5 separate regions of the Homo sapiens genome follow, and regions 1, 2, 3 and 5 are each linked to region 4. Evidence: promoter capture Hi-C in human tissues and cell types (Jung and others, 2019). All regions are on one chromosome and are shown on one strand. Each heading gives the region's core, a stretch centred on a gene start or on the middle of the fragment in contact. The rest is flanking DNA. Distances are from core to core; before and after follow the strand shown. Region 1 overlaps LINC02462 (long intergenic non-protein coding RNA 2462). Region 2 has its middle 67 kb from the start of PABPC4L. Region 3 has its middle 48 kb from the start of PABPC4L. Region 4 holds the start of PCDH10 (protocadherin 10). Region 5 has its middle 150 kb from the start of LINC02462.

Region 1 (5,908 bases), core at 2,646-5,145, 1.3 Mb before region 4:
GCCCAGGGCTATCTCTAGCATTTGGAAATATCTTGAAATGTTTATTAATGGCCTCATAAACCATGTTCATCCTGTTTTTCTGCTGAATTCTTGGCAATTGGAAAAAAGACACTCATTTCATTGCTAGATGTGATCACAGAGGATTCTAAAAGCATATACCTTGCTAAATTCTGATACATACATATGAATTATGAATTTTTAAATCATCAACAAAGATCAGTGTACAGAATTGACTATAAATCACTCTCTCTGGGATTGAGAATACATAATTTTTATGTCCACAGGTAAAGGAAATTTTAAAATGAAATCAGTGGCAATGTTTGAATATGTTGTCAGCATTTGTTTATTTAGAAATTGAAAATCAAATTTATATAATCATCATCTCTTCTAATGAGATGAAAGGCTGTTTTTACATTTTACTGAAACTAAAAAACATAGACATGTGTAGATAGAAAGAATATTGATACTTTATTCCTATTCTAGTTGCATGGATAGCTACATCACATATAGGCAATTAATTAAGTAATTAAATAATTATTCACTTTATTTTTAACAACTATTTTTGGCTATGGAGCGAGATACTATGGATGCAACATTGAGCAAAAGTAGACATGGTCCCACCAGTATCACGACAAGGTCTACACTTAATGGCGCAGCAAATTTGGAGAACATTTTTGAAAATTTTTTCAATCGTTTATGAATTACTACACAAATGACAGATGTGGTTAGAATCTCAGAAGACTAGAAACATCATAAGCATAGTGATGCGTTAATTAGAGTTCTCATATGTAAATAATAGTATTTCAGTTTCTAGGGAGAAAATAGTAATTTTTATGAAGACTGCATTCAGTCTATAGATCAATTTTGGGAAAATTGACATCTGAACAATATAGTCTCATGCAATGTATTGACATGATATATTTATATATTTCTCCATTTATTTAGGTGTTTTTAATTTCTCTCAACTATGTTTGGTACTGTTAATTTTACAGGTGTTATACTTATTTTGTTAAAATTACTACAAATTATTCCATGTTTAATGATGGTATTACTTTTAAATTTTATTTACGCACTCTTTTTTTTTGCTAATATATAGAAATTCAATTGCTTTTGCATATCAATCTGGTATCCAATAATCTTTCCAAACTCACTGGCTATTTCTAGGATATTTTTGTAATTTTAAGGATTTTTAAAAATAGATGATTAAGATATTTGTGCATGTAAATATTACTCAATCATTTCTAGTTTGTATATTTTATTTATTTTTCTTGAATCACTTCTCTACCCCAGCAACTTCATTTTAATCCTTTCTTTTCCCTAATATTTTCCCAATATTCTTGCCTTCCCCAATAGAGAGGAAAAGAATTCAGTCTTTCAACTATGTATTTTGTTTACTCTTGGATTTTAGTAGATGTTTTATATAAGATTTCATGTGGCAGAAATCCAAGATTTCCAGGATGATCTCCACACCTTAATGTTATAACCAATACAATCTTTTTTTTTTTTTTTTTTTTTGAGCATAGGCAGGACTTGTGGCTTGCCTCTAATTAATGGAATATGGCATAGATGATGGGATATCACAACCATGATTGGGTTATAATGTATTAGTCCCTCTTACTTATAAATGGTAGAAGCTTTCCAATGGACCTTGCAAAGGCAAGGTGCTATGACAGACAGACAGGGCCACATGTCAGGCAAGCAAGAGTGACCTGTAGGATCTGACAGCCTCAGTCCCAGACTGTAAGAAACTGAAATCTGCCATAACAACATGAATTTGAAAGAGAACCCTGAGCTCCAGAATACACAACTGAAACCTTGATTGAAGCTTTATGAGATACTGAGCAGGGGACTCAACTAAGTTGTGTACAGACATCTGACCCATAGACACTTTGATATAATAATTGGTGTTCTTTTAAGCTGCTAAGCTTGTGATAATTTCCCACACAGCAATAGAAACTAAATATACAGATAAAATATTTTTTCTTGTATTCTCTTTTTAAAAATTAATTTTGGAGATTATTTTCAATTTTCTGAAATATTTTGTATGGGATTATATTATTTATTGTTTAAATATTTGAAATGAATAACCAGTAATGCCTCTGGGTCTAGATTTTTCTTTGTTGGAAGGTTTTCTGCTACTAATACAATTAAAATCTAGAAAAATCAGCATTTTAATTAATGGTGTTGGTAATTTGTGTTCTTACTCTTTTTTCTTTTATTGCAATAGCTAGATAATGAACAATTTGGCTGATGTGTTCAAAGAATTTGCTTTTGGTTTTATCAAATTTTTCCCCATTATTGTCACTTTTCTGTCATCAATGTCTGCTCTTTTTTTATTATTACCTTACTTTTACTCACTTTGGGCTTAATTACTACTTGTTTTTCTAGATTCTTAAAATGGAAGATTAGACCAAATAATTAAGACCTTTCTTCTCTTTACCATAAACATTGAAAGCTGTAAACTTCCAACTCAGTATTGGGTTAGCCACAGAACAGTTTTTAAGATGTTTCATTATGTATTATTTCATATTTTTACATTTCCCTTTGATGTTTTTCTTGGACTTCAAGTTATCAACCAGTGTATTTTTTAATTTTACATATTTAGGGGTAACCTAGTTATCTGTCTATTTTTGATTACTAATTTAATCCCATTATAGTCAGATAATTGTTATTTTATGCTATTTGTTTTATGACCCAGCATATGGCATATATTTTAAAATATTTTACAAACTTAAAAATTATGCATAGACTACTGTTGCAGCATAGCGTATAATACAAATTAAGTCAACATAATTGGTGTTATCACTCAAATTTTCTATGTATTTATTGATTTTGGATCTACATAGTCTATCAATAATTGAGAAAAGACAGACAAAATTTCCAACTGTAATTCTAAAATGTGTCCTCTTTTCTTTCTGATTCTAACAATTTTTTTACTTTTAAAAGTATTGTTGTTAGTGCATACTCATTTAGGATGTGTTTATGTCTCTTGATAAATTAACTTTCTTATAATTACATGTCCTTCTTTATCCATGTTATTATTTTTAAGTTTCTCATTACCTAATATTGGTATTCCCACTTACATTCTTGATTATTAGACTTTGCATGGTATATTGACTATACCCATCCTTTCTTTTAACATGACTATACCTCAATATTTAAAATAATTTTCATATAGACAGCATATAATTGGCTCTTACTTTCTTATATAGACCTACAACTGGAATGTGCATATCACTTATATTTTGTATAATTTTCAATATATTTGGGCTATGCATACAATTGTATTTGCATTCTATTTGTCTTCCTTTTTCTCTGTCCTTTTTTTCTTTCAAAGTAATTATTTTTCTCCTCAATTATGTATCTAGTATTGACTTAGCCATATTCTTTTGTTTTATTTTTAGGGTCACTGTTATATAATTTTAAAATGCTTTATCTTATCATATTTGTCCAATATTTATAGTTCACTGCTTGATGTATAATACAATAATATGTATAACATATATGTTTAATACGTATAACATGAATTTTACAACTTCCATTTCTGCCCTTGTTCTTTGTGTTATTTTTACCATACATTTAATAGATGTCTTGAGAGGCCTACAATACAGTTACTATGTTTTGGTTTTAATAGTCATCTTTTAATGAACTAAAAGATGGGGAAAAAGTCTTTAATATTTATTTACCGCACACTCAGAAATAGCATTCTTCATGGTCTACTGTAGTTCTGTGTTTCCACCTGGTATGTTTTCTTCAGCCAGGGAAGAACTTTCCTTAATATTCCTTCTAGTGTATGTCTGCTGGCTCTGAATTCCCTTAGGTCTTGTTCGCTTGAGAAATATTTCACTTTTAGTTTGGAAAGATATTTTCCTATATATAAATTAAGGTTTGGTAATTTTTGTCAGCAACTTAATTAGTTTGTTTCACTCCTTGTTTTCTTCATTTCTAATGAAATGTCTATAACCATTCTTATTTTTGTTCTCAAATGTTTAGTGTGGCTGCTTTAACATTTTTCTTTTTTAGCATTGTATATCAACAGTTTGATTTAGATTTTTCTTAGTGTAACTCTATGTTTATTCTGCTAGAGACTTTCTGAGATTCTCAACACAGGGGATATAGCGTTCACTAAATTTGGTATAGTTTGGGCACCGTTTTTCAAATACTTTTTTGACTTTCTACTTTGCTCTCCTCTTCTTCTGGAATACAAATTACATATAAATTAGAATACTTGCTACAGGCCACTGAGGCTTGGATTAATTTATTTGTCTATTTAAAAAAATATATCTTTGTGCTTCAGTTTAGATATTGCTAGGGACTGAATTTTATCTCCTCAAAATTCACTTGTTCAAGCCCTAACTTCCAATGTGACTGTATTTGGAGATAGGGTTGAAAAGGAGGTCATGAGGGTGGGGGCTGGATACAATAATGTCAGTGTCTTTCTGGGAAAAGACACCAGAGAGCTCCATCTCTCCACACATGCATGCAGAAAAGAAAGGCCATAGGAGGACACAATGAGCAGACAGCTGCTGCAAGCCAGGGAGAGGGTCCTCACCAGAAACTGGCCAGGCTGGCTCTCTAATCTTGAACTTCCAACCTCTAAAACTGTGGGGAAATACATTTCTCTTATTCAAGCCACCCAGCCTGTGCTGTTTTGTTATGGCAGCCTGAGCTGGCTAATATAGGTATTCTCTATTGCTTTTTATTTGAATTTATTGGTGATTTGACCTACTGTGATATAGCTGCTAAAGTTACCCAGTGGATATTTTAATTTTGATATTATAAATTTTATCTCTAGAAGTTCCATTTGGTTCTTATTTAAATATTTTTATGTATCTTTTGCATTATGTTCTTCTATAATAGTTCGAATATTGCAGTGGCTTAGTGATGTGCCTGTGCCGCTGAGCTAAACTACATTTCTCAGAATTCCTTTCCTGCATTTTCCAGTTAGAATAGGCAACAAGAAAGTTTCCTGTGGGGAATTGAAAGGTAGAAGTGAAGTGGCAGTCTTTTTGCAGCTCGTACGCATCATTGCTTATCCACTGCCTCACCTCCTTTGTGGAGAGAAGTGGTCAGGTTTGCAACTGCCCCAACTTCTCTGTCATTCTCCTAAAGCTTCTTTGACTCCTGGGCCAGAATTGTGTATGGTTAGATCTGTGGTAAAGGGTCCCAGCTTTTTCAGGACATTTACCACTTAAGGTCAGAGTCACTAAGAATTGATGACAGTTTTAGTCCATCTCATTCATTTCTTGACTTCCTGCTCTGTGGACTACATACAGCATCAGACCTGAAGACAACAGTCAGACAGAGACTGCTTAGACAGCTCCCACTATTGCATACGTCAATCCCTAAAATAAATAAGTATATAAGTAAACTTATATATACTTATGTGTGTGTACACTTGTTATATGAAACAAATATTTAAACATTTCTAATAGTTCTATTTAAGTTCTTGTATGGTAAATCTATCCTTTTTTTAATTTCCTTATTTTACTTTATTTTTAATGATTTTTCTCATGTGGCTCACAGGTCTGTTTTTTTACCTAGCTAGTGATTATTTTACTAGATCCCAGATATTGTACATTATTTTTTGTCAAGTGTTTAGATTTTGTTGACTTCTTTTAAAGACTATTGAAGTTTGCTTTGGGAGGTAGATAAGTTTTAAAAGGAGGCTTTTGTGGTTTTTTTATTGTTTATTTTTATTTTTTGGATCTGAAGTGGAATTTACTCAAGGGCCAATATAGCTCTGTTAGCCAGTTGTGAAACGTCTGAGGCTTCTATTAATTATCTCAAGTATTCAACAAGATTTTTTTACTCTCTCTGGACACTGACTGTCTTCCATCCTTGTGTGTGGCCTGGGAATTAATATTCTTACAATTTGTTTGCAGTCGATATTGCTTGACTTTGTGGA
Region 2 (6,279 bases), core at 874-3,373, 1.1 Mb before region 4:
TTCTCAAATAATAAAACTTGAAAGTTGAAATTACTCCTTGATCTATGGGCTGCAGAATGGGTGTGCTATCAGGTGTGAAAACAACATTCAACATTTGTACATCTTCATTAGAACTCTTGGCTGACTGGGGGTATTGTCAGTGAGCAGTAATATTTTAAAAGGAATCTATTTTTTGAGCAGTAGGTCTCACTAGTGAACTTAAAATATTTAGTAAACCATGCTGTAACCAGATGTGCTGTCATCTGGACTTTGTTTTTCCATTTCTAGAACAAACAAATACTGACTTTAACCTGAAGTCACCTGCTGCATTAGCTCCAAGCAAGAGATTAAGCCTGTCCTTTGAAGCTAAGCATTGACTTCTCCTCTCTAGCTATGAAAGCCCTTGATTGCATTATCCTCCAATAAAAGGCTGTTTTATCTTCACTTAAAATCTGTTGTTTACTATAGTCACCTTCAGCATTTATCTCAGCTAGATTTTTCTGCATTACTTGCTCAAGCTTTTTCATCAGCACATGCTGCTTTACTTTGCACTTTACATTATGGAGACAGGTTATTTCCTTAAACCTCATGAACCAACTTCTGCTAGCTTTTAACTTTTCTTCAGCTTCATTACCTCTCCAAGCTTCCCTAGAATTGAAAAGAGTTAGGGCCTTGCTCTAAATCGGGATTTGGCTTAAAGGAATTTTGTGACTGGTTTGATCTTCTATCCAGGCTATTCAAATTTAGTTCATATCAGAAATAAGGCTGTTGTCACTTTCTTATCATTTGTGTCTTCTCTTGAGTAACACTTCTAATTTCCTATGATAATTTTTCCTTTGCATTCACAACTAAGCTGTTTAAGTCAAGAACCCTAGCTTTTAGCCCATTTCTATCTGGACATGCCTTACTCACTAAGCTTAATTATTTCTAGCTTTTGATTTAAAGTGGCTCTTCCTTTCATTTGATGACCTAAATGCCATTATAGGGTTATTAATTGGCCTAATTTAAATATTTCAGTATATTTCAATATTGTTATGTCTCAGAGAACAGGGAAGCCCAAGAGGAGGGGAAAGACTGAGGAACGGCTGGTTAGTGGAGCAGTGAGAACATGTCAATTAAGAACATTTATCAATTAAGTTTGTCACTTTATATGGTCACAGTTCATGGAGCCCCAAAACAATTACAATAGAAATATCAAAGATCACTGATTTCAGATGACCAGAACAGATACAATAATAAAAAAAACACTTTAATATTTTAAGAATTACCAAAATGTGACACAGAGATGGGAAGTGAACACCTGCTATTGAAAAAATGGTACCCGGCTGGGTGCGGTGGCTCACGCCTGTAATCCCAGCACTTTAGGAGGCTGAGGTGGGCGGATCACAAGGTCCAGAGTTCAAGACCAGCCTGGCCAATATGGTGAAACCTCGTCTCTACTAAAAATACAAGAATTAGCCGGGCGTGGTGGCGCATGCCTGTAATCCTAGCTACTCAGGAGGCTGAGGCAGAAGAATCCCTTGAACCCAGGAGGTGGAGGTTGCAGTGAGCCAAGATCATGCCATTGCACTCCAGCCTCGGCAACAAGAGCGATACTCTGTCTCAAAAAAAAAAAAAAAAAAGGTACCCATAGATTTGCTCGACACAGGGTTGCCACAAAGGTTCAATTAGTTAAAAATGCAACATTTGGCCAGGTGTGGCGGCTCACGCCTGTAATCCTAGCACTTTGGGAGGCCGAGGCAGGCTGATCACCTGAGGTCAGGAGTTTGAGACCAGCCTGACCAATACGGTGAAACCCCGTCTCTACTAAAGATACAAAAAAATTAGCCAAGCATGGTGGCGGGCACCTGTAGTCCCAGCTACTTAGGAGTCTGAGGCAGGTGGATCACCTGAGGTCAGGAGTTCGAGACCAGACTGACCAATATGGTGAAACCCCGTCTCTACTAAAACTGCAAAAATTAGCCCGGCATGGTGGCATGCGCCTGTAGTCCCAGCTACTCAGGAGGCTGAGGCAGGAGAATCCCTTGAACCCGGGAGGGGGAGCTTGCAGTGAGCCTAGATCGCACCACTGCACTCCAGCCTGGGCTACAGAGCAAGACTCCCTCTCAAAAAAAAAAAAAAAAAGAAAGCAGCATTTGTGAAGTTCAATAAAATGATATGCCTGTATTCTTTAAAAATCACAAAATAGAGCAGATGAAAATGGACATTCTTTACACATTTGAAGTATCATGGATAATTTAAATAAGTTGTACATTTTAATGGAATAGCAATATGAATAGAATATATGATATCTGTTTATTTGGGTAATATAGCAATTCGAGTAGAAAAAAATCAGTGATGTAAGAAATATCTCTATAGCTGTCATTTACTTGTACCATTAATTAATCATTTACTATATGTTACTCACTGTATTAAGCTGTTTATACAAATTTCATCCAATAATCACAAGAATCCAATGAAGAAATCTTATAATTAATATCATCTTAATGATGAGTAAACTGAGCCAAGTTAGAGAAGTTAAATGACATGCACAATTCATACAAATATAAGAAGTAAATTCAAAATTTGGACACAAGCCTGTCTAACTACAAGTACATTCCTATCACAATGCATATCATATCACTAATATTAGAATATTTAAAAGAAGCCTCAGCTAAGGGTCAACTTGTCTACCTTTGACTCTTTTCAAGAAATATATTTTGTGTCTTTCTACAATCTTGCATATATGTTTAGATATCTTTTCTTTTGTTCTTTAAATGGCTGCTACCACTCTTAATTCTCAGTGAATTAACTTTTACAGATTTGTCAGAGGACTGTTATTGTCTAGCCAACTCAGTCTAGGCAGGGTCATCATGGCCATCTCTAGCCCCTTTATTGCTGTCTCATATGGGTCATCTTTGTCCTCTCAATGTCTAAAATAATCTGTATAAGCATGCCACTTTTAAAGGTAAATGCAGAGAGTCAAAAATTTTATGTCAATAATCCAGACTGACAAGTTTTACAATGCAAATTTACCAGACATGTATGAGAATAATAATGCCTTTCAACACTAGGTGAAACAGTATTTGGAAGTAGTTTATATTATTATTTAAATTGTGATTGGCTTTCAATGAAAAAAGGCAAGTAAAAAAATCAGCTGAATCTCATTATACATCGAATACTGGAGAATATACGAGAATATGTTAACAATGTTTACTTCTTGTGAAAAGAATTACCATTGGCAGTACCTTCTTCTATTTTTTTTGTATTTTCTAATTTTCTGAAATATTATATTATTATGAATTATATATTATTATATTTATAACCAGTGAAAACAGTTTCATATAACTGTCAAATTTCATTAAAGTTATCCTCTTCTTCCTCTTCCTCCTCTTTCATTTCTTCTCCTTCTTCTTCTATATTTTTTCCTAAAGTAGCTTTATTTTTCTCCTGGCTAGTGGGTAGTTGGAAGGACACGTAACAAAACACATGATAGAGTCATATAACCATAAAAATATGAAAAAAAATCATAGCCCTAAAATCAAAGTGATAATTTTTCCTTGCTACCATATTAGTACAATGTCAATTATGCTTTTTCTAATGTTTCTAGTAATGATAACATGGCACATATATTACCAAATGTAAACTATTTTTTATTTTTTCCTACAAGAATCACCTCAGGAGAACTATGGCATATTTTAGCCTTATTTAATATGTTTCTGAGCTCCTGTGCAGATTTTTTTTGAAATGTATTCTAGAAGAAATACATGAAGTAGTTTCACCAGATTACATAATAATATTGTAAAATATCAAAGGCAAAGAGCTACTTGTGAGGTGGCATAAAACCAATAAAATTCAATGCACACTAAGATTGTAAGTGACCAAGTGGCAACAGTTTTACAGTCCTAAGAATGGGTGACAAATTGATTTTCTTTGCCAGGACACTTCTATTCATGAGGAAAAAGAAAAAAAAAAGACTTCACAAAGTCCAACCAAACAGTAGTAATGACTAAAATGTAATATGCAGAGAACACTCTACTAAGGCAGAAGACAATAAAATTGAGAAGAAATCTATAAAACAAAGTCAACTGTGAGATTTCAGATATATACAGTGAATTGGTTTTGTATAGTCAGGTCATTTTGTATTAATATATTGAGAAGGTAGTACATATTTTGCCTGAATTACAACATTTGACAAATTATATAGGGTAAATTTACCAGGTAATTGTGAGTAACAAATTTTAGTGTCTCTATGAAATAAAATGATTTTTGAAGGAAGGTTTCAGGTACATTTTGTTATCTTTGTTTTCTTTTAATAATGCAGTCATCTTTGGCTTCCAGAGTAAAATGAACAAAAAAAGAAAAAGAAAAAAAAAAAACGCTTACTCTATAGGATCACTATATCTCTGCAGGTTAAGTCAAATCTGAAAAAAATAATAATTTCCAAAGTTTTTCCTCTTTAGGTAACTCTAAACTCAAGGAGAGACTTTTTAAATCATAGGATTTTCATATCTCTAATAGGCACTTCTAATCTGAAATTTCCCAAACCAACATGTTCCCCCACAATCTCTTCCTCATTGGTAAATGATGCAAACATCCATTGAGCTGTTACAAACAAAAAGCTGTAAGTTAATCCTGCCACCTCTATCTCTCTTACCTCCTATACTTCCTATACTGGATTCATCACCAAGTTTCCTAAGTCCATATCACAAACCCCACCTTCTTCATGCAAGGTAATAATAAAGTCATACCTGGAGAACTTTGGTAATAGCCTCTTAAGGTGTCTCACTTCATATGTTCTTGCCTTACTCCTATTTTTCGTATGATAAAATTTAAGCCCTAGGATAGTCCTACTTGAAAATTTGTCACAGTGTTTTCTTTGTACAGAGAATAAAATGAAAACACACTGCAGTGGCCTACATGGTCTTGTCTTATCTGGCACCTTACCAGGTCTGCAAATCGTGTTTAACCCAATTCCTTTCCTGTCTTCATGGCCAACCACATGCTGTCCTCCTTTAAGCCTTCAGCATCTTCAGAACTAGCCAATGTGGCCTCAGGGCCTCTGCATCATGATGTCACCTCAGTTTCAAATTTTCTCTTCCCTCCAATGCCCTTCACCCCCTCATCACTATCTAACATACTCTTCAATTGACCTTCTCATTGTACACATTAGGTTTTGCTGAAAAATAGCAGTGGTGGATTATAGCATGTCAATTTCTCAAAAAAAAATTAAACATAGAATATGATCCAGTAATCCACTTCTGAGTACCCAAAAAAATTGGAAGCAGAAATATGAACAGATATTTGTACACTGATGTTGATAGCAGCTTTATTATAACCAGAAGGTAGAAGCAACCCAAATGCCCATCAACATATGAATGGACAAAGAATAGCATACACATAAAATAGAATATTATTCAGCCTCAAAAAGGTATGATTTTCTGATATGTGCTACAACATGGATGAGTCTTGAAAACATTGATAATTAAATAAGCCAGACACGAAAGAACAAATACTACACATTTCCACTTATATAAGGTAAATAGAGAAAGTAGAATAGCGGTGATCAGGAGCTGTGTGGAGGAAGAAATAGGGAGTTATTGTTTAAGGAGTAGATAATTTCAGTTTACAATGTTAAAATGTTTTGGAGAATGATAGGGATGATGGTTCCACAACAATGTGAATATACTTATGCTACTGAATTGTACACTTAAAAATTGTTAAATTTATGTTGTATTTTACCACAATTTTTAAAAATCTCCTAAAAATTACAGTGGCACTTCTTTTTTAATTTTCTCTCTCAACAACAAGCATTTCCCATATTAAAATTATCATTAAAATTTAACGGTAAAATAATTTGAATTTATCATTGTATATCTGTATTTTTTCATATGATTAGCAAATCTTCGCTATATGAGCCTGTAAGTTTCATGAGGGCAGTAACCTTGGTTTCTATGTTTTCTTTTCCTTCTTAATTCTTTTTTTGTTTGTTACCCAGCCCAAACTCCTGGCCTCAAGCAATCCTCCCACCTCAACCTCCCTAGTAGCTGGGGCTACAGGTGTGCACCACTGTGCCAAGTTAATTTAAAAAAAATAGAGATGGGGTCTCACTGTGTTCCCCAGGCTGGTCTCAAACTCCTGGCCTCAGGCAATCCTCCTGCCTGAACCTCTCAAAGTGCTGGAAATGCAAGCATGAGCCACTGCACCCAGCTTGGTTTCTGTATTTTCTATGTTACGTAGTTTGGTTTTAATTATCTCACTGCCGACTTTGTGCCAAGTTGAGGGACCAGCACCAGTAGCATTGAATCAATCTCTGCTAAA
Region 3 (6,248 bases), core at 2,421-4,920, 1.0 Mb before region 4:
GTAATTTACAGTATGTTTCAGAAAACTAATTGTTTCTCTTTCCAGAATCTATTGAAATATTATTTTTTTCCGTGCATCCACATTTGTAAGAACACTGATGGATATGATGGTTTCTGTTTCATCAATATTAATTTAAAGCTGCTGAATATCCTTGGAGAGCTAATCAAGAAGGTAGAAGTTTTTCCACATTAATGTTGTCAAGTGACAGTAGATTTAAGAGGTAACGAGCACTATTTACTTAAAAAGAAAATGTTTTCCCTTATGCAATTACTGTTAGAAAAATCATTAGCCACAACAAAAGCTCTATGAGTCAGTTAAACATATGTCTCATTCTATAATTTATACTTCTTCTTAACAGGCTGTGATCCCTTAGGTCGAGATTACTTTAGAAATACAAAGAGGACCTTAAAACTAAATAATTTCTATTATAAAATGAACATGTAAATTATCTGCTAAATTACTTGTACTTAATTAGTAATTTTGCATAATGACATACATTCTCTTTGGGTCTCTTCAGGCTCCGACAGATAACACTTTACAAATGTTACTTAAGTTCCAATTACAGCACAAACCTTGTAGAAATGTACTATTAATCTAAATATGCAAACGTGAGCAATACTAGCATTCCTTAGACAAACTATAATTCAACATTTCTGCTAAAGGGTACCTTGGCTCATTTTGAATTCAATGCTTTTTATGTTATTGTTTCTTACTTAGAAACTAACAGCTATCCATTTTTAAAAGTTTGTAGGTGAATAACATAGTGTACAATTATTAGAGTTAGCTCATTTGACTTTTAGTGTAGAAATTCAGATTACAAAAATATTTATCTTCTGATTTAAATGCTGTGGTTTTTTGGTAGTTAACGATAAAATAACCATGGAAGACAGCTACTAGTACTATCACTGCAGTGTTCTGGCTGAATTGTTCTAATCTTGTCATAATAACTTTGGGTTTTAAATGATTATATGTAATTCACTTAGAGGAACAGTACATTTATTTCAAATAAAATGATGAAAATAAAAATTATTTATTTCTTTAACAAATATTTATTGAATAATTACAATGTATAGAGGATAGAGCAATGGGGAAGATAGACATAGATCTCAGAAGTTTACATTCAGACTGTGTGTATATGACAGTATGTTTTGTACATGACTCTGTGTGTGTGTGTGTGTGTGTGTGAACTGGGAGAGAAATAATGATTAGAAGTTGATTAGAAATAGATAATGTGTGTTGGGGGAGAGAAAGAAGGAATAGGAAAATAGACAACCTATTATCAGAGTTTGTAAGAAAAATAAAGTTATGTAATAGACAAATGACTTGAATAAGAAGTCTACTTTAAATATAGCCTTCCATTTTACACAGAAATATAAAATAAATTTTACATAGCTTTCAGGCCCGTCAAATTAAAGTACTGGATAAATTATATGGAGATTGTATTTTGCTTTCTTTGAAATGTAATCTAGAGTGGTTCAACATTTTGGAAAATCATGTCACCTCTGGCAATACCATTTGTGCCATATGAATTGTCATTTCAGCTTCTACACTGACATCACTAGCATCATTTTGTGATAGCATTTGTATAATAATGGTGATTTCGACTCTATTTAATAATGTTATATATAAAGAAAAAACATCTACAATATTCGGTTGAAGTTTTGCTATAGTGTTTTATCACTTTACCTGAAAATTAATATCATGAATGTAATCTACCAACTTCTTTTTCAAATTAAGCAACAAAAATGTTAAGATTAAATGCGAAGTTTAAAAAGAAGTACAGTAGCTCACATAATCCTGAAACTTAAGAAATTTAAAAAAATTTTAAAAATTAAAAAAATTCTACTGTCATTAGAATGTTTAAAAACACTTAAATTCAGAATGAGCAAGGTTTCTTTTATATATAAAGTACAAATAATGCAAAATATTAATATGATGAACCACACAACACTGGAGAAAAAAAAATCTTACCAGCCAAATGTGAAGTTTTAAAAGGGAGTAATTTATTCTTCTGATTGTCCAAAGGCAATGTTTATAGAGGAATCAATGAGAAGGTAAAATATTAGGTATATAATAAACTGCAAATCATATGTAAAATTCAAAAGGATAGGGGAGATGTTATTTATTTATTTATTTATTTTTTAAACAGAGTCTGGCTCTGTTGCCCAGGCTGGAGGTCAGTGGCAGGATCTCAGCTCACTGCAACCCCTGCCTCCAGGGTTCAGACAATTCTCGTGCCTCAGCCTCCCAAGTAGCTGGGACTACAGGCATGCGCCACCACGCCTAGATAATTTTTGTATTTTTAGTAGAGATGAGGCTTTGGCGTGTTGCCCAGGCTGATCTCAAACTCCTGAGCTCAGGCAGTCTGCCTAAATATGGATATAGGTAAGATTGAAGTAGAGTTTCTTATAAAAAATATTTCATAATATTTTATTTAAAGATACCAATTTTCTATGGAGTCAATGTTTCCTATAAGAATACATTTAAACTTTCATATAGATAATAAGATAGATTATCTTTACTGAGTGATTTTTCTTGGTTCCTTGATCCCAATTTAGCTCCTTTAGGGACGCGTTTCATTTATAAAGACAAGACAGGATTCACCACCTTCCTTTTTCCTCTTTGGAATTGTTTGAAATGTTAAAATCCTCTCCTAATTTATTGTGTAATAATCTTAGCTATGTAGCCTTTAAAACATGCAGAAAGTAGCAAAAGCTCATTAAGAATAAAGATATTTGTAAAGTGAGACCCTGTCTCTACAAAAAAAAAAAAAAAAAAAAAAAAAAACTAGGCATAGGGGCACATGCCCGGTAGTCCCAGCTACTCTGGAGGCTGAGGCAAGAGTATTGCTTGAGCTAGGAGTTCAAGGCTGCTTTGAGCTAACATCACACCACTGCACCCCAGCATGGACTACAGATCAAGACTCTATCTTAAGAAAATAAAAAAATAAAGAAAGAAAGAATAAATATGCTTGTATTTAAACAAAACAGAATACTGAATGTGGGGAGGAAAAGTATCCAAAAGTATACGGCCTTTAGCTAAGGTGACCCTTATTCACATTAAATAAATAATATCACGTGAACAATTAAATAAATTTTGAAAATAAAATCTTTCACTGTCAAACTCAAAATTGTGATTTGTTTTTGACTTAGAGTAAATATTATTTCTTGTAACCTTTATGGACATTTGCATGGAAAATATTCTTGGTCTATTGGTATATTTAAAATATATATATATATACACACATACTTCAAAAACCAGCATCTGAACATTATATCCAAGCATTAACAGTGATGACTCGGCAAACTAAAACACTATGAAGGCAGAAAGACAGAAGAGTGATGAATTTTATATTGCGATTAATACCTTATTTATACTCAATATGAAAGACACAGTACTAAAAAAATAGAGACAAGCTATAATGAAAATGAGTTGAAAGGAATTCTATTATGTTTGGATGTTTATCCCCAATGTGATGATCACTCTCAAATGTGATCCCCAGTGTTAGAGGTGGAGCCTCATGGAAAGTGTTTGTGTCACGGGAGCAGATCTCACATGACTAGATTAACCTTTCTAGTGTGAGAGTTGAGTGAGTTCTTGGTCTATTAGTTCCTTCCAGAGCTTGTTGTTAAAAATAAGCTAGCATCACCCCTCTCCTACTCTTTTGCTTCCTCTTTTACTATGTGATCTCTGCACACACTGCCTCCCCTTTTCCTTCTACCATGAGTGGAGGCAATCTGAGACCCTCACCAGGAGCAATTCTGATGCCATGCTTCTTGTACATACTGGAGAAGTGTCAGCCAAATAAAACCTTTTTGCTTTATAAATTACCCAGCCTCAGATATTTCTTTATAGCAACATAAAACAGACTAATGCAGTAAATCTGTACCAAAGGAGGGATGGTGTAAAGATACCTGAAAATGTGGAAGCAGCTTTGAAACTGGGCAATGGGGAGAGGTTGGAAGCGTTTGGAGGGCATAAGCTGTAAGCCCCTCTGTCTTCCACATGGTATTGAGTGTGCAGATGCCCAGAATGCAGGAGTGCTGGAGGCTTGGTAACATTCACCTAGGTTTCGGAGGATATATCCTCAGGCAGAAGCCTGCCACAGAGGCAGAACCACTGTAGACAGTACTCACCAGGGCTTTGCTTAGTGGAGCTGTGGAAATGGGGCCACTGCCTTAAATTTTATTAATTTTCAACAGTCAATTTTTCCATATATTTAAGAAGGAAATCTCCAAGATCTTACATGAAATTATTCAAAAAACCTAGAGTTACAATATACTTTCCTAACATACTTTATAATGTAACATATTCTTAACACTAAAACCTGAAAATAATATTGAAATATATTAATAGTCAATATCTCTCGTAGCTATAGAAGCTAAAAGCTTAAACAACAATATTATTATTCATTTTTATCAAAAGAAACATTAAGAAAAAAGAGTGTAAACCACAGGAGAAAAATAGTTACAATAAATATCTCTAACAAAAGACCTGATTTCAGATTATATAAGGCACTTGTATAAATCAATAAATAAAAGAATGACAATCCATTAGAAAATTGGGCAAAAAACTTGAAAAGCTGCTCAAAAATAATAATATCTAAATTGATATGGACATAAAATGGAAATTCAGTAAAAATATAAAAATATGTTACATTATTTTTTGCAAAAAATTTTAACTGATAATATAGTTTTTAATTTCATGATGGGAATTTACCAGGAATATTCTTATATTATAATAAGCTTTAATTAACTTACCATTTTACATATTTTTCTGTTGTCCAATTTTCCCTTTGTCATTTCAAAGTATTTTAAATTTGCTATGAAAATGGTAACATATATTATATTCTAGAAATACATGATAAAATTTTACAACTTTGATGTGTCCCCACTAATAGTTAATTCTATTCTCTTTATTTTGAGTTAATAAAATAAATAATTGGCAAAACATTAGAAAAGATAAGATGAAATGTACTATTTAAATGTAGGTATTCTGACAATTTTGTATGTGTTGATGGAGTAGATAGATATTGTTAGGATATAAATGACTTTATATTATAAGTTACCATTCTGAAATAAAATGATCAGAAAGAATATTTAATGAACATTGTTTATATCAGGAAAAGTTTTCCACACCTCTCGATTCTATTCTTAAGACATTATAATATGATCGTTTTGATGAACAACACCAACAAAAATTTAGTAAAGCAATATTTATGAAGTGCTGAGAAAATTGTAACCATGTTTTGGGATATAATGGTTAGCATGTGCAACTATGAGATTTTAATTTTGTGTTCTTTTTATTTTTTATTTTTAACCGTAATACATATACAGTAAAGTATGTAGTGTATACAGTGCTCCATGTTTTTAACATAAATGCCTGTGTAATCACAAACAGGTCAAGAACAAGGGATTGCCTGCCTTTCAGAAATTTATTTTATTTCCCTTCCGATTCTAGCCTCCCTTTCCCCAAAATAAGCACTATCTTGAATTCTAACACAATACTATACTTCTGGCTACTTTACACTTTATGTAAACTGAATTATATAGTATGTATTCATTTGGGTCTGACTTCAGTCACTTTACATGTTTGTGTAATCCATTCTATTTTTGCAAGAAGTTTTACTTCGGTTCATGTATTTTCATGGCTGTATCATGTTTCGTTTATTAATATACCAAAATTTGTATGTCTTTTTAACTGCTGATGGACATTTGAGATATTTTGAGTTTATACTGGCATAAAAAATGTTACTAAAAGCATTCTGGATAGTGAACTTGTTATGTATCTGCATGTGCTTCAATTATGTGAGGATTTAATTAATTAATCAAACTCCATTGCTAACTTTAACACAAATCCCATGAGTTGAAGAATGCCAAGGGTGGGGGAGGTTTCATATCTTGGATTGGAACGTGGAAAATCTTTGTACCAGGAGTCCAGGTGAACCTAAATAGCATGGCCATTATAGCATGATCTTTCTTGAAATTGGCTTAATCAAATTAATTGATCTTTTCATACACCCACAAAGTAGGAATCTAATTTTTTTAAAGTGAAATTTGCATTCTCTATCAAAATTACCTGCAATGTTATCATCACATGTATATTTGGCTCAAGAACTGAAGTAGAAATTAATACTACAGATATATCTGGATAAGTCAACAAAGACATACTCCATATTTATTAATTATAGCATTGCTAAAAATGCCATATAATATGCAGGGCACGGTGGCTCATGCCTGTAATCCCAG
Region 4 (5,974 bases), core at 3,437-5,936:
ATTCTGCTGTCTTTTCCTTCAGTGGCTTAAAAAAGTGTTTAGGTGCATACTGGTTGACACAAGAAAAACAGCACGCTCAATAAGCAAAAAGTTTGGATATTTCATGGAATTATGTTGTTGTTTATTTTCAAAATGTGCTTAAGATACAAATGAGCTGTACAAATATTCATGAAAGTCAATTAATAATATCTAAGACTCAAATAAAATAACCTGCCAGGAAAGGAGTTCATAATCCTGCCCGCCCCCCACCACCCCCATTCTTTTCCCCTCCAAAGGCCCTCTGCATTCGCCTCCCCACCTCTACCACCCACACACCTTTCCGGTCCAAGCTTTCTTTCACATAAACCAACTTTGTTCTCCCCCCAACCCCCACCCTCCGACTTTGTCACTTCTCCATCCTTTTAAAAAGAAGTCAGAATTGACAAGCCAAATTCTTTTATGAAGAAAGCCAACAGCGTGATTTATCCAAAACAGTGGCAAGAAGGTGATTATTAGCTAAAAAGATATATTTAAGACAACAATTGTTTAAGCCTTTCGTTAGTTTACTCTTAACAGGGGTTTGTGCCAACGCAGCTTCATTCAAATTCACACTGTGTGGGCGCTCGGCTTCAAGAGCGTCTGTAAATGCTGTCCAGAGCCGAACTGAAGGCTTTTTTTGCAACCCGAGTTCAGAGGAGAAGGATCTGGTAACTTGTTCACTAAAACATGAATTCGAGGTTAGACAACTGTGTAAAGTTAAACAATCTATAGCTTACTTGTACACGCGACTAAAAGCATCGTTAAACAAAGCAAAATAGAGCCAACTTTATTAATGCCTGGGACAGACGCAAAGAAAAAAGACCTTTGCCAGTGCTAGAAAGTAAGTCCCTCCTCCACATTTCCCTCTCCCTTCACGCAGTTTCCCTTCATGCCCAGGTTACTGAGAAGGGAAAGGACTGACAGGATGGAAGAGCAAAGGAGGGAGCTCCAAGGTGGCAAAGTACCAAGGGGACGGAATGAAAATAAATGTGAAAGGGTGGAACAACGCGAAAGTTAGGTTACACACGAAGGAGTGGGAGAAGGTGACCGCCCATCTCTGCTCCCACAACGATACACATAAGCTAATATCCTAAAAATAGATACAGTGCACCAGAGATACAAGGGCCGGGCTAGAGGAGGCTTTCTGATGGAGGAGATGAGAGATGGTGGTCCTTTCGCTTCAGCCTTACCTCGTTGGACAAAATGCTTCCGTTGGAGATGATATCAGGCTGCTGGTCGGTGTAACCGGTGACGATGGCCCCGCAGGGGTTGTGCTCAGTGTCCGTACTCCGCGAAGGGCTGCAGGGCTTAAGAAACATCAGGTCGGTCTTGGCGGACTCAGGGGTCAGGCATACCTGATAGCAGTAATTCTGGTTGTGGTGGTGGGAGCCAAAGCCCCCGGACTCCTCTATCGGCACCTGGGCCGGGTTACTGGGTACATTGGAGCTCTGCACCAGCATGATGTCTGACTTGCTGAGTTTCTTCTTGCGCGCCCGGGCTTGGCGGCCACAGCAGGTCGAACCTCCGCCACCGCAGCAGCAGCAGCAGAGGCAGCAATCGCTGGCCAGACAAGTATAGATGTTGAGCTTCTTCTCTTTTTGGCAACGCACGGCCAGCACGATCATGGCCAGCAGGAAGATGAAGGACACCGAGCCCAACGCGATGATGAGGATGAGGGTGAGGTCTAGCGAGGTTTCCCCGCCGCCAGAGCGACTGGGGCGCTGGTGCTCTCCTGACCCTCCGCCTCCGCTCCCGCCCCCGCCCTGGGGCTCCACGGCGCCATCCACCAGCTGAACCACCAGGGTGGCGGTGGAGGAAAGGGGCGGCTGCCCATGGTCGCGCACCTCGATCACCAGCTCATAAGGCCGCTGGGGGTCGCGCTTGGCCGGGACTCGGCGTGCTGTGCGCAGCTCCCCGGTGCGCCAGTCCATGCGAAAGAGGTTCATTTCGTTGCCACGCACGATGCTGTAAGTGAGCCGGGCGTTCTCGCCGTCGTCCGCGTCCACGGCGGCCACGCGGGTGAGCAGGTAACCCGGCTCCGCCGAGCGGGGCAGCACCTCACGCGCTGGAGTCCCGTTGCGCCCTGGTAGAGGCGCCACGATGGCAGGGGCGTTGTCATTTTGATCCACTATGAGGATGTTGACAGTGGCGTTACCAGCCAGCGCCTGGGGGCTGCCAGCGTCCCGGGCTTCCACCTGAAAACTGAAGTCCTTCAGCTGCTCATAGTCGAAGGAGCGCAGGGCGTACAAGTAGCCGTTCTCAGAGTTGATAGAAACGTAGGTGAAGACGCTCATGCCCTGGATCTGGCACTCGAGGATAGAGTAGGCAAGCTGGGCGTTGGCGCCCTCATCCCGGTCGGTGGCGCTCACCGCGTAGATGTAGGCGCCAGGCACGTTGTTTTCAGTCACATACACGTCGTAGACCGGCTGGCTGAAACGCGGCGCGTTGTCGTTCACATCCGACACTTGTACCTGGATCGACTTACTGGTGGAGAGCGCAGGCTCGCCCCGGTCCCGAGCCACTACAGTCAGGGTGTAGGAGTCCCCCGCCTCTCGGTCCAGGGGGGCTTCGGTAACGATGGTGTAGTAATTCTTAAAGGAAGACTTGAGGCGGAAAGGCACGTCTCCCAGTAGCTCGCACTGCACCTGCCCATTCTCCTCTGAGTCGCGGTCAGTCACGCTGAAAAGGGCCACCACAGTGCCGGGCGCCGCGCCCTCACTCACCGCTTCCTTCACGGTGCTGAAGCTGATCTCTGGCGCGTTGTCATTAGCATCCAGTACTCGCACTAGCACCTTGCAGTGCGCAGGCACGGCGTTGGGGCCCAGGTCCTTGGCTTGCACGTACACTTGGTACACTGGGCTCTCTTCATAGTCCAACTCGCCGCTTACCTCCAGTCTGCCAGTGCGCGGCGAGAGTCCGAAAAGCTCCCGCGCCCGGGGCGAAATGTGGCTGCTGAAGGAGTACACGACCTCACCGTTCTGGCCCTCGTCCGGGTCGGTGGCGTTGAGCTGGATCACGAGAGTGCCTGGGGGAGAGTTCTCTGGTAGGGACACAGTGTAGACGGGTTGGTCGAAAGCGGGCACATTGTCATTGGAGTCCAGCACTCGGATGGTGAGTAGGGCCGTGCCGGTGCGCTGCTGCTGGGGGGGCAGGCCTGCTCCCCCGCCACCTCCCCCTCCTTCTCCTACTCCTCCCCCACCTCCTCCGTCCACCGCGGTCAGCACGTAGCGGTGCACCGCTTGCTGCTCTCGGTCCAGTGGCTTCTCCAGCACCAGCTCAGCGAATCGGTTGCCATCCCCCTGGGTCTGCACGTCCAGGGAGAAGTAGCTGTTGGGGGTGATCTCGTAGTCGCGCAAGGAGTTGGTGCCCACGTCTGGGTCGAATGCGCTCTCCAAGGGGAAGCGAGTGCCTGGCGTGGCGCTCTCAGAGATTTCCACCGTCAGGTCTGGCTCCGGGAAAGAGGGGGGGTTGTCATTAATGTCCAGCACCTCGATCTCCACCTGGAACAGCTCCAGGGGGTTCTCCAGAAAGACCTCCAGGTGCAGGACACAGGAGGGGCTCTGTTTGCAGATTTGTTCGCGGTCTATTTTCTCGTTCACGTACAGCACCCCTGTCTCCAGGTTGAGGTCTAAGTAAGGGGTCCTTGAGTTGGGCACCGTCTGAAACCCGCGAGCCGAAAGTTTTGTAATGTCCAGACCCAGATCTTCAGCGATATTCCCCACGAAAGTGCCATGTTCCTGCTCCTCCTGTACCGTGTAGTGAAGCTGGGAAAAGACTCCTTCCACCATCCAGAGCAAGGCAAACAATAATAGCACAATCATCTCCAAAAGGAAAGGAAGTAGCTTCCCGCAGCCAGTCAGCCACCCAATCACCTCCCCCACCACCACGAAACAAAAAAAAATCTGAAAAAATACAAATAAAAGTGCGCTACGTGGGGGCTCCTGTGGCTTTCTGTCTTTAAAAATCTTACTCCTTTTGCTTCATTTTAGAGCTTCCCGCAATCCAGCCTCATTTTTTTTTAAATCTTAGCACAGGAAGGGTGACAGGCGTCCCCTTTCCTCATCTGTAATCTTTCCACTGACTAATTAATAAAATAACAATAATACAATAGTCAGCGTCCTTTATTCCGACAGTCTTGGCGCTGGCAAATCCCAAAGAGGAAATTTCGATATTTCAAGACTGTCCTCGGTTTGTCTTCTTGCTGATGGGAGGAGAACGAGGAGGAGGAAAAAGAGGAGGAGGAGGAGGAAGAAGAAGAAGAGGAAGAGGAGAAGGAAAAGGAGATGCTGTTGGCACCGTTAAACATGCCTCTTAATGTCAACGGCTGGCAAATGCAAAAGGGCTTAAAATCAGCGATATAATTTTGTGCCGGAAAAGCACAGAACGGCTCTGCAGCTTAAAACTTTCATTCTCTTCATTTCTCCGGATGGATGTTCTTCTTGACATTTTTTTCCTCTTTCGCTCTATTTGTATTTTTTGTCTTTCAGAGTCTTGGTTCCCTCTGTCCTCATCTCCACCGTTACTTGCCTCTCTGTAAGTGTAATGAGCAGTTTCTTTTCTGCTGTTTTCTTCCCAAGCCTCTTTCCCTCTAACCTGTCTCTTTTTCCTTCCAGTCCTTCCTTCCTCCTGCTTCAGCCTCTGAGCCTGTGGTCTGGGCTGGCAGTTTCTGAGCTCCGAGCGCTCGGCTTCTCCGTTTTTGCGCAGCGCCCTCATTCTGCCAACCAATCGCCCAGGAGCACCACCCACCGAGCTGCCGATGATTGGCCAAACTGGCCGCCAAACAGACACGTCACGCGGCAGCCGGGCGGGGCGGGACAGAACTCTCGCCCGAGCGGCCGGGGTGAGTGTGAGTGTGAGAGCGAGAACAGCCCCGCAGGTCCCGAGGCGCTGGCTGGGGACAATGCCGCGGAAAGTTCCCAGTCCCCAGCCGCAGGTAATGGGGAGGGAATAGAGAGGTTCCCCTGTTTGCATCAGCAAATGCGAAAACATAATAGCAACAGCTGCGATATCCTCTCCTAGGAGCGGGATTTCCAATGATGCTAACATTCTTTTTCCTTTAAGGTATTTTCCCTAATACGCATCATGGAAATAAATCATCGAGAAGGGAAAAAGTAGCGCAGGGCCCACTAATTGGCAAGGGTTACCTAATTAAGGGACCCTAGCAGAGACTGGCAGGGCATTTTAAAAGTGAGTATTATATGGCATGTGTCAATCTAAAGGTGAGGGGGTCTGACGGGGCCGTGAGGAAAGGCGCGAAGCATACGGAGTAGGGGGTGGAGGTGACTCCTAAAAAGCGGAGGAATTCACGCTAAAGGATGTGGGGATGACAGCGCTTACAGACGGGCAGACGCGTTCGACGTGCTTCTTTCCTCCCAAAATACATATTCACAAAATACTTACCAAGTAGATTAACTCACTCGAGGACCTAGCTTCGAGCCGTGAGCGCGTTCATCAGTGACTGAGGAGTTGATTTGAGCCGCTTCCTACAAGCCCGCCATCCTAACGCCGGGCTCTGGGGCATCCGGCACACAGCACCGCCAAGCGCTGCAAAGCGCCTCTGATATCCCTGCGCCTTGTGCGGCCAAGTGCCACGCAGCGGCTGGGAACACCGGCTATTTTCTATTTTTTTTTTGGCAATTGGAGATCGATCCCTTTACCCACCATGCTAGATTAGACCACTGATTTCTGCCAATCCTGGGGTCAGCCCGCGGGATGAGGACAGTGGGGCGGCGGCGAACGCGGGCGGGGTGGTGGGCAGGGCCCGTGCACACGAGGGGCCCGAGTGTGCACCGCTGCGGGTATCTGCGAACACGTTTGCACATGCACGGTACTTGCATCCATCCTCCCTGGCCCAGGGCTTAGCTCTGTGTAAGCCCCAACGGAGCCTCCCCGAGTTCCGAAGGACGCGCTTGACCAGCTGTGAGTGCCCCTTCCGGAGGCGCAGGGGCAACGCGGC
Region 5 (5,530 bases), core at 922-3,421, 1.4 Mb before region 4:
TTACAGACTTTAAAAATACACATAATTTAGGAATCTTTCACATTTTTGTCTGGTTTTACACTAAATATTTCTAATGCAACTTCATAGTACTCATTCAAACATCCTTGAAGCATTTAAAAAGGGAATACCTCAACTTACTTAAGAAAACTATTACAGCTATTAGGACTTAATAACTCTAATAGCTGTAAAAGCCTGTACACACAGAAACACACACACACACTCATGCACACACACACAGAGGAATGATCATGGTAGAAATATTCTCGACTCTTTTTGTATCATTTATGTGCGTGAGGCTGCTAGAAATAAAACAATAAATTGTCTAGGTATCCTACTTAAAGTTGTTGAATTGTTCAATATTTGAACTATGAATTGGGAAAAAAATCTCATAATTTATAAATTTTTAAATTAAATGAAACTCTCTTACTATGCTATAATATTGCTTCATTAAATGTATTCCCACTTACTGTTGGGATTTCTGCAAAGTCTTGTTGTTATAATATTTCAGTAAAGCATAAACAAATCTAATTTGGCAAATCATTTCTGTGCTATGGTAAGGCCTATCAGAGGAACTGCTAATTTATATTACCTACTGTACTAGCCAGGGTTTCCTACAGAGTCAGAACCAGTAGGATGGATATATGTATCCCATAGACAGATAGATAAATAGATGAGATGGAATTTATTAGTGGAACTGGCTCACATGATTACAGAGGCTGAGAAGTCTCACAATAGCCCATCTACATGCTGGAGAACCAGGGAAGCCGATAGCCTGTTTCAAAGTCCCCAAACCTCAAACCAGATGGCATAACTCTCAATCTAAGGCTAAGGGCCCAATAGCCCAGGGGGCTACAGGTGCAAATCCTACAGTCCAAAAGCCAGAGCATCTGGAGTTCCGACATCCAAAGGCAAGAAACAATGAGTGGCCGAGCTCCAGAAGACAGCAAAAATTTGCCCTTCCCCTGCCTTTTTGTGCTAGTCAGGCCCCCAGTCGATTGCCTAGTGCCTAGCCATATGGAGGGCAGATCTTCCCTACTCAGTCTACCAACTCAAATGCCAACATCCTCTGGAAGCACCCCTCACAGACACACTCAGAAATAATGCTTTCCAGTTATTGAATTATCCCTTAATCCAGTCAAGTTGACATGTAAAAATTAACTAGCACAGCTACCTAACATCCAGGGACTACACAAAATCTCTTTCTTAATAAGTAAGAAAGTTATTCTCTGTTTTGCTTAAATCATTCTTCTCTATTAGTATACTTTAAAATAGAAACTAGCAGTTTTATCAAAAGATTAATTAAAAAGTGCTGATAAGCGTGTATAAGTAATTCCTCAACAAAATTTACATATGAAAATTTCTTGATAAACAAATAATGATTACTCTTTCCTTGGAAAATAACATTATGCCAGCGAAAATCTATTTTACAGTGCATTTAGTTTTTACATTTAATTGTAAATTATTTAATTAAGTTCCTTATTATGAACACTTGAATATTTGGAGAATTTAATATTTTCTTTTGAAAATTCAACAAAATGTATTTTGGGAGTAAATAATCATATAAATATTTAAAATTTAAAGTATATAGCAGTATGATTATAATCATCATAGAAAACATAATTCTTTTATAATTTATTTTATGAGAAATGTATTGCCTTGAACATGACAGTCATTCTCTGAGGCAAAAATCCTTTGTCACATGTGAAATACTTAAAGCAAATAACCTGAATTATCTTCAACAAATGTCTTAAAAAGTGTTGTCTGCCCTTGGAGGTTAAATAAAACAGACAAAAACTGAATAAATGAGAGTTCATGCTGTTTCTTTACAATGTTACACATACTTCAAAATGATACATGATTTTGAAAAATAAAAACGTTAATGAACAGTTTTTGTTTTTACCTATATGTGTGTATGTCATTTATATAAAATAGCTGGTAGTATCATGTTATATGCAATATTCTATTTTTTCTCACTTAATGATACACAATGGTTCAAATTCTTAATTCACAACATCAAATATATTACCAAATAACTCACAAAAGGAAAAATAACTTAAGATATATGTTTAAATATATTCATACTTCTTACTTAACATCTTCTGTTCATTTGTTTATTCATTCAATTAACAAAATCTTTTTCCTTGTTAAATATCAAGGACATAATGGTGACAATATATGAATTTTAATAATGACTTTTGGGACGAATATATTTTTGAGCAAGCTTCCTTGCATTTCTATCCCAGCTCTACAATACTATATGTCATTGAAAAAACTATAGATCTTTGCTAAGCATATTATTTATCCTATATAATATGACATAAGTAATAGCATAGTCAGTTCTCCTATAATGCAATCTATGCATTTGGAAGAATTATAACAAAATGCAAAATCATGTGGTAATAACCATAAATGTTTGGAGAAAATTGGAACTAAGACATAACAGTTAAACACTTTTTTAGTGACACACAGAAATAAAAATAAAGAAAGCTACTAAAATATTAGCACAGTTTTACTCTTCTTAAGTTACTAAGATGCTACAGTAAATGTAGGACAGTATCTTGGGGGAAAAACAAGTTTGCTTGTGAAAGTGGAAGTTGGAATCATTACAGCTTAAGGTTGTACTTATCAGCAACTGAGAATTGGTAGAAGGAGGATTATCTGAAGGAGAGTTATTGATGTATTTCAAATGTAGAGAAGAACATTAGAAAATCTGTAGACATCAACCATACCTAGATATTCAAGAAATTCAATACAATATTTCAAAATTGGAGTTGAACAAGAGAAAATGGAAAGCCACTAAACAGTGAAATCACAAGGTTTCATTTTAACTTTAGAAAGACTACTAGATGTACAGTGAGAAAATTATATTGGTGTTAGAAATCATTATGATAGGAAGTCATATAAGAGAGATTATACAGGACTAAGCGAGATCATAAAACATTTAAATAAAGACAGCAACTGGGTGATAGATATCAGTGGAGGTATTTAAATAATGTTTAGAAAATATAAGAGTAGTTTTGATGGATGCTTTGATATAGCCTTGGGATAAAAAGATAGGATCAACAAAGAGGCAGAGTTTTTTTTGGCAACTGGGCATATAGTGGCCTCAAAGCAGACACAATAACTGATTTATTGAGAGTGGGATGGCATCATTTTTAAGTTCCCTGTGGGTCATCCATATAGAGTCTTCAAGGATACAATTGAATTAAAAAATACTAATCAGGAGAGTGGTGTGACAACAGTCAAGGTATGAAAAGCTGAGAAAGAATAACTAAGTTGCTTCTAATAGAGCAATTAGAAAAATGACTGAGGAGTTCACACTTAACTAGTAATACTGAAATCATTTTCAATTCTTGCAAAAATAATTTAAATTTGGGCGGCAGCACAGATCATAGAATATACGGAGTTGTGTAATAAGGTGAGGCAACAAGAAATGTAAAAGCTTTTTGAGTAATTATGATTGTTAGTATGAAGAGACATTATAGTTGGAGATAATTTGTTTTGTTGTCATTGCTGTTTTTGTTTATTTGTGTAATGGATTGATGTGTATCTCTTTATGTGTTAAAGGGAAGATGCCCCTAATGAGAAATAATTGATTATATATGAGAAAGTTTTGTCAGTGGTGTTCCAGAGTGGGGAAAAACAGTCCCAAAACACAAATAAAAAAATTACCTTTGACCTAAAAAGATATATGTCTTTTATTATAATTGGAGAAAGAGTGGAGAAAAGACACAATTATTTCACTGTTACAGTAGTATGAGATTGAAAGTAGTCTTTTCTGATTGCCTCACTTAAGAAAGGAGACTATATTAGCCCTTTGTCAGATGGATAGACTGCAAAAATTTTCTCCCATTCTGTAGGTTGCCTGTTAACTCTGATGATACTTTCTTTTGCTGTGAAGAAGTTCTTTAGTTTAATTAGATCCCATTTTTCAATTTTGGCTTTTGTTACCATTGCTTTTGCTGTTTCCGTCATGAAGTCTTTGCCCATGCCTATGTCCTGAATGGTATTGCCTAGGTTTTCTTCTAGGGTTTTTATGGTCTTATGTTTAAGTCTTTAATTGATCTTGAGTTAATTTTTGTAGAAGGTGTAAGGAAGGGATCCAGCTTCAGATTTCTGCATATGGCTAGCTAGTTTTCCCAACACCATTTATTAAATAGGGAATTCTTTCCCCATTGCTTGTTTTTGTTAGGTTTGTCAAAGATCAGATGGTTGTAGACGTGTGGTGTTATTTCTGAGGCCTCTGTTCTGTTCCATTGGTCTATATATCTGTTTTGGTACCAGTACCATGCTGTTTTGTTACTGTAGCCCTGTAGTATAGTTTGAAGTCAGGTAGCGTGATGCCTCCAGCTTTGTGCTTTTTACTTAGCATTGTCTTGGCTATGCGGGCTCTTTTTTGGTTCCAAGTGAAATTTAAAGTAGTTTTTTCCAATTCTGTGAATAAAGCCAATGATAGCTTGATGGGGATATCATTGAATCTATAAAATTACTTTGGGCAGTATGGCCATTTTTACGATATTGATTCTTTCTATCCATGAGCATGGAATGTTTTTCCATTTGTTTGTGTCCTCTCTTATTGCCTTGAGCAGTGGTTTGTAGTTCTCCTTGAAGAGGTCCTTCACTTCCCTTGTAAGTTGGATTCCTAGGCATTTTATTCTCTTTGTAGCAATTGTGAATGGGAGTTCACTTATGATTTGGCTCTCTGTTTGTCTGGTTTTGGTGTATAGGAATGTTTCTGATTTTTGCACATTGATTTGTATCCTGAGACTTTGCTGAAGTTTCTTATCAGTTTAAGGAGATTGTGGGTTGAGATGATGGGGTTTTCTAAATATACAATCATGTCATCTGGAAACAGAGACAATTTGACTTACCCTTTCCTAATCAAATACACTTTATTTCTTTCTCTTGTCTGTTTCTCCTGGCCAGAACTTCCAATACTATATTGAATAGGAGTGGTGAGAGAGAGCATCCTTGTCTTGTGCTGGTTTTCAAAGGGAATGCTTCCAGTTTTCGCCCATTCAGTATGATATTGGCTGTGGGTTTGTCATAAATAGCTCTTATTATTTTGAGATACGTTCCATCGATACTTAGTTTACTGACAGTTTTCAGCAGGAAGGGCTGTTGAATTTTGTCGAAGGCCTTTTCTGCATCTGTTGACATAATCATGGGATTTTTGTCATTGGTTCTATTTATGTGATGGATTACGCTTATTGATTTCCATATGTTGAACCAGCCTTGCATCCCAGGGATGAAACTGACTTGATCCTGGTGGATAAGCTTTTTGTTGTGCTGCTGGATTCGGTTTGCCAGTATTTTATTGAGGATTTTCACATTGATGTTCGTCAGGGATATTGGCCTAAAATTTCCTTTTTTGTTGTTGTGCCTCTGCCAGGTTTTGGTATCAGGATGATGCTTGCCTCATAAAATGAGTTAGGGAGGATTCCCTCTTTTTCTATTGATTGGAATAGTTTCAGAAAGAATGGTACCGGTTCCTCTTTGTACCTCTGGTACAATTTGGCTGAGAATTCCT

Evidence for each region. The method cuts DNA at HindIII sites, captures the fragments that hold promoters and counts their contacts. A contact is called where the count stands out against the background at its distance.
Region 1: a contact is called between a fragment that was not itself captured here and the fragment with the promoter of PCDH10 in region 4, in 1 of the 25 tissues and cell types used here (H1 embryonic stem cells).
Region 2: a fragment that was not itself captured here is called in contact with the fragment with the promoter of PCDH10 in region 4 in 1 of the 25 tissues and cell types used here (H1 embryonic stem cells).
Region 3: a fragment that was not itself captured here is called in contact with the fragment with the promoter of PCDH10 in region 4 in 1 of the 25 tissues and cell types used here (lymphoblastoid cells).
Region 5: a contact is called between a fragment that was not itself captured here and the fragment with the promoter of PCDH10 in region 4, in 1 of the 25 tissues and cell types used here (mesenchymal stem cells).

The regions. Positions count from the first base shown.
Region 1 is chr4:134,464,188-134,470,095 of GRCh38, reverse strand. All of the region lies in intron 3 of LINC02462 (long intergenic non-protein coding RNA 2462), which reads right to left. Among named protein-coding and RNA genes, the nearest start is that of LINC02462, 43 kb to the right of the region's middle. The HindIII fragment of the contact is 4,039 bases long and covers 1,876-5,908 here.
Region 2 is chr4:134,266,088-134,272,366 of GRCh38, reverse strand. No RefSeq gene overlaps it. Among named protein-coding and RNA genes, the nearest start is that of PABPC4L, 67 kb to the right of the region's middle. The HindIII fragment of the contact is 3,125 bases long and covers 561-3,685 here.
Region 3 is chr4:134,150,350-134,156,597 of GRCh38, reverse strand. It overlaps a transcript of PABPC4L not described here. Among named protein-coding and RNA genes, the nearest start is that of PABPC4L, 48 kb to the left of the region's middle. The HindIII fragment of the contact is 5,431 bases long and covers 955-6,248 here.
Region 4 is chr4:133,148,006-133,153,979 of GRCh38, reverse strand. It overlaps PCDH10 (protocadherin 10), which reads right to left and starts at 4,686. Exons shown (of 5, transcript NM_032961.3): 1 at 1,209-4,686. The coding sequence starts at 3,839. It overlaps PCDH10-DT (PCDH10 divergent transcript), which reads left to right and starts at 4,864. Exons shown (of 9, transcript NR_125885.1): 1 at 4,864-4,951. RefSeq lists a silencer at 4,633-4,772 and an enhancer at 4,883-4,942. The HindIII fragment of the contact is 10,822 bases long and covers 1-5,974 here.
Region 5 is chr4:134,572,524-134,578,053 of GRCh38, reverse strand. No RefSeq gene overlaps it. Among named protein-coding and RNA genes, the nearest start is that of LINC02462, 150 kb to the right of the region's middle. The HindIII fragment of the contact is 4,379 bases long and covers 1-4,360 here.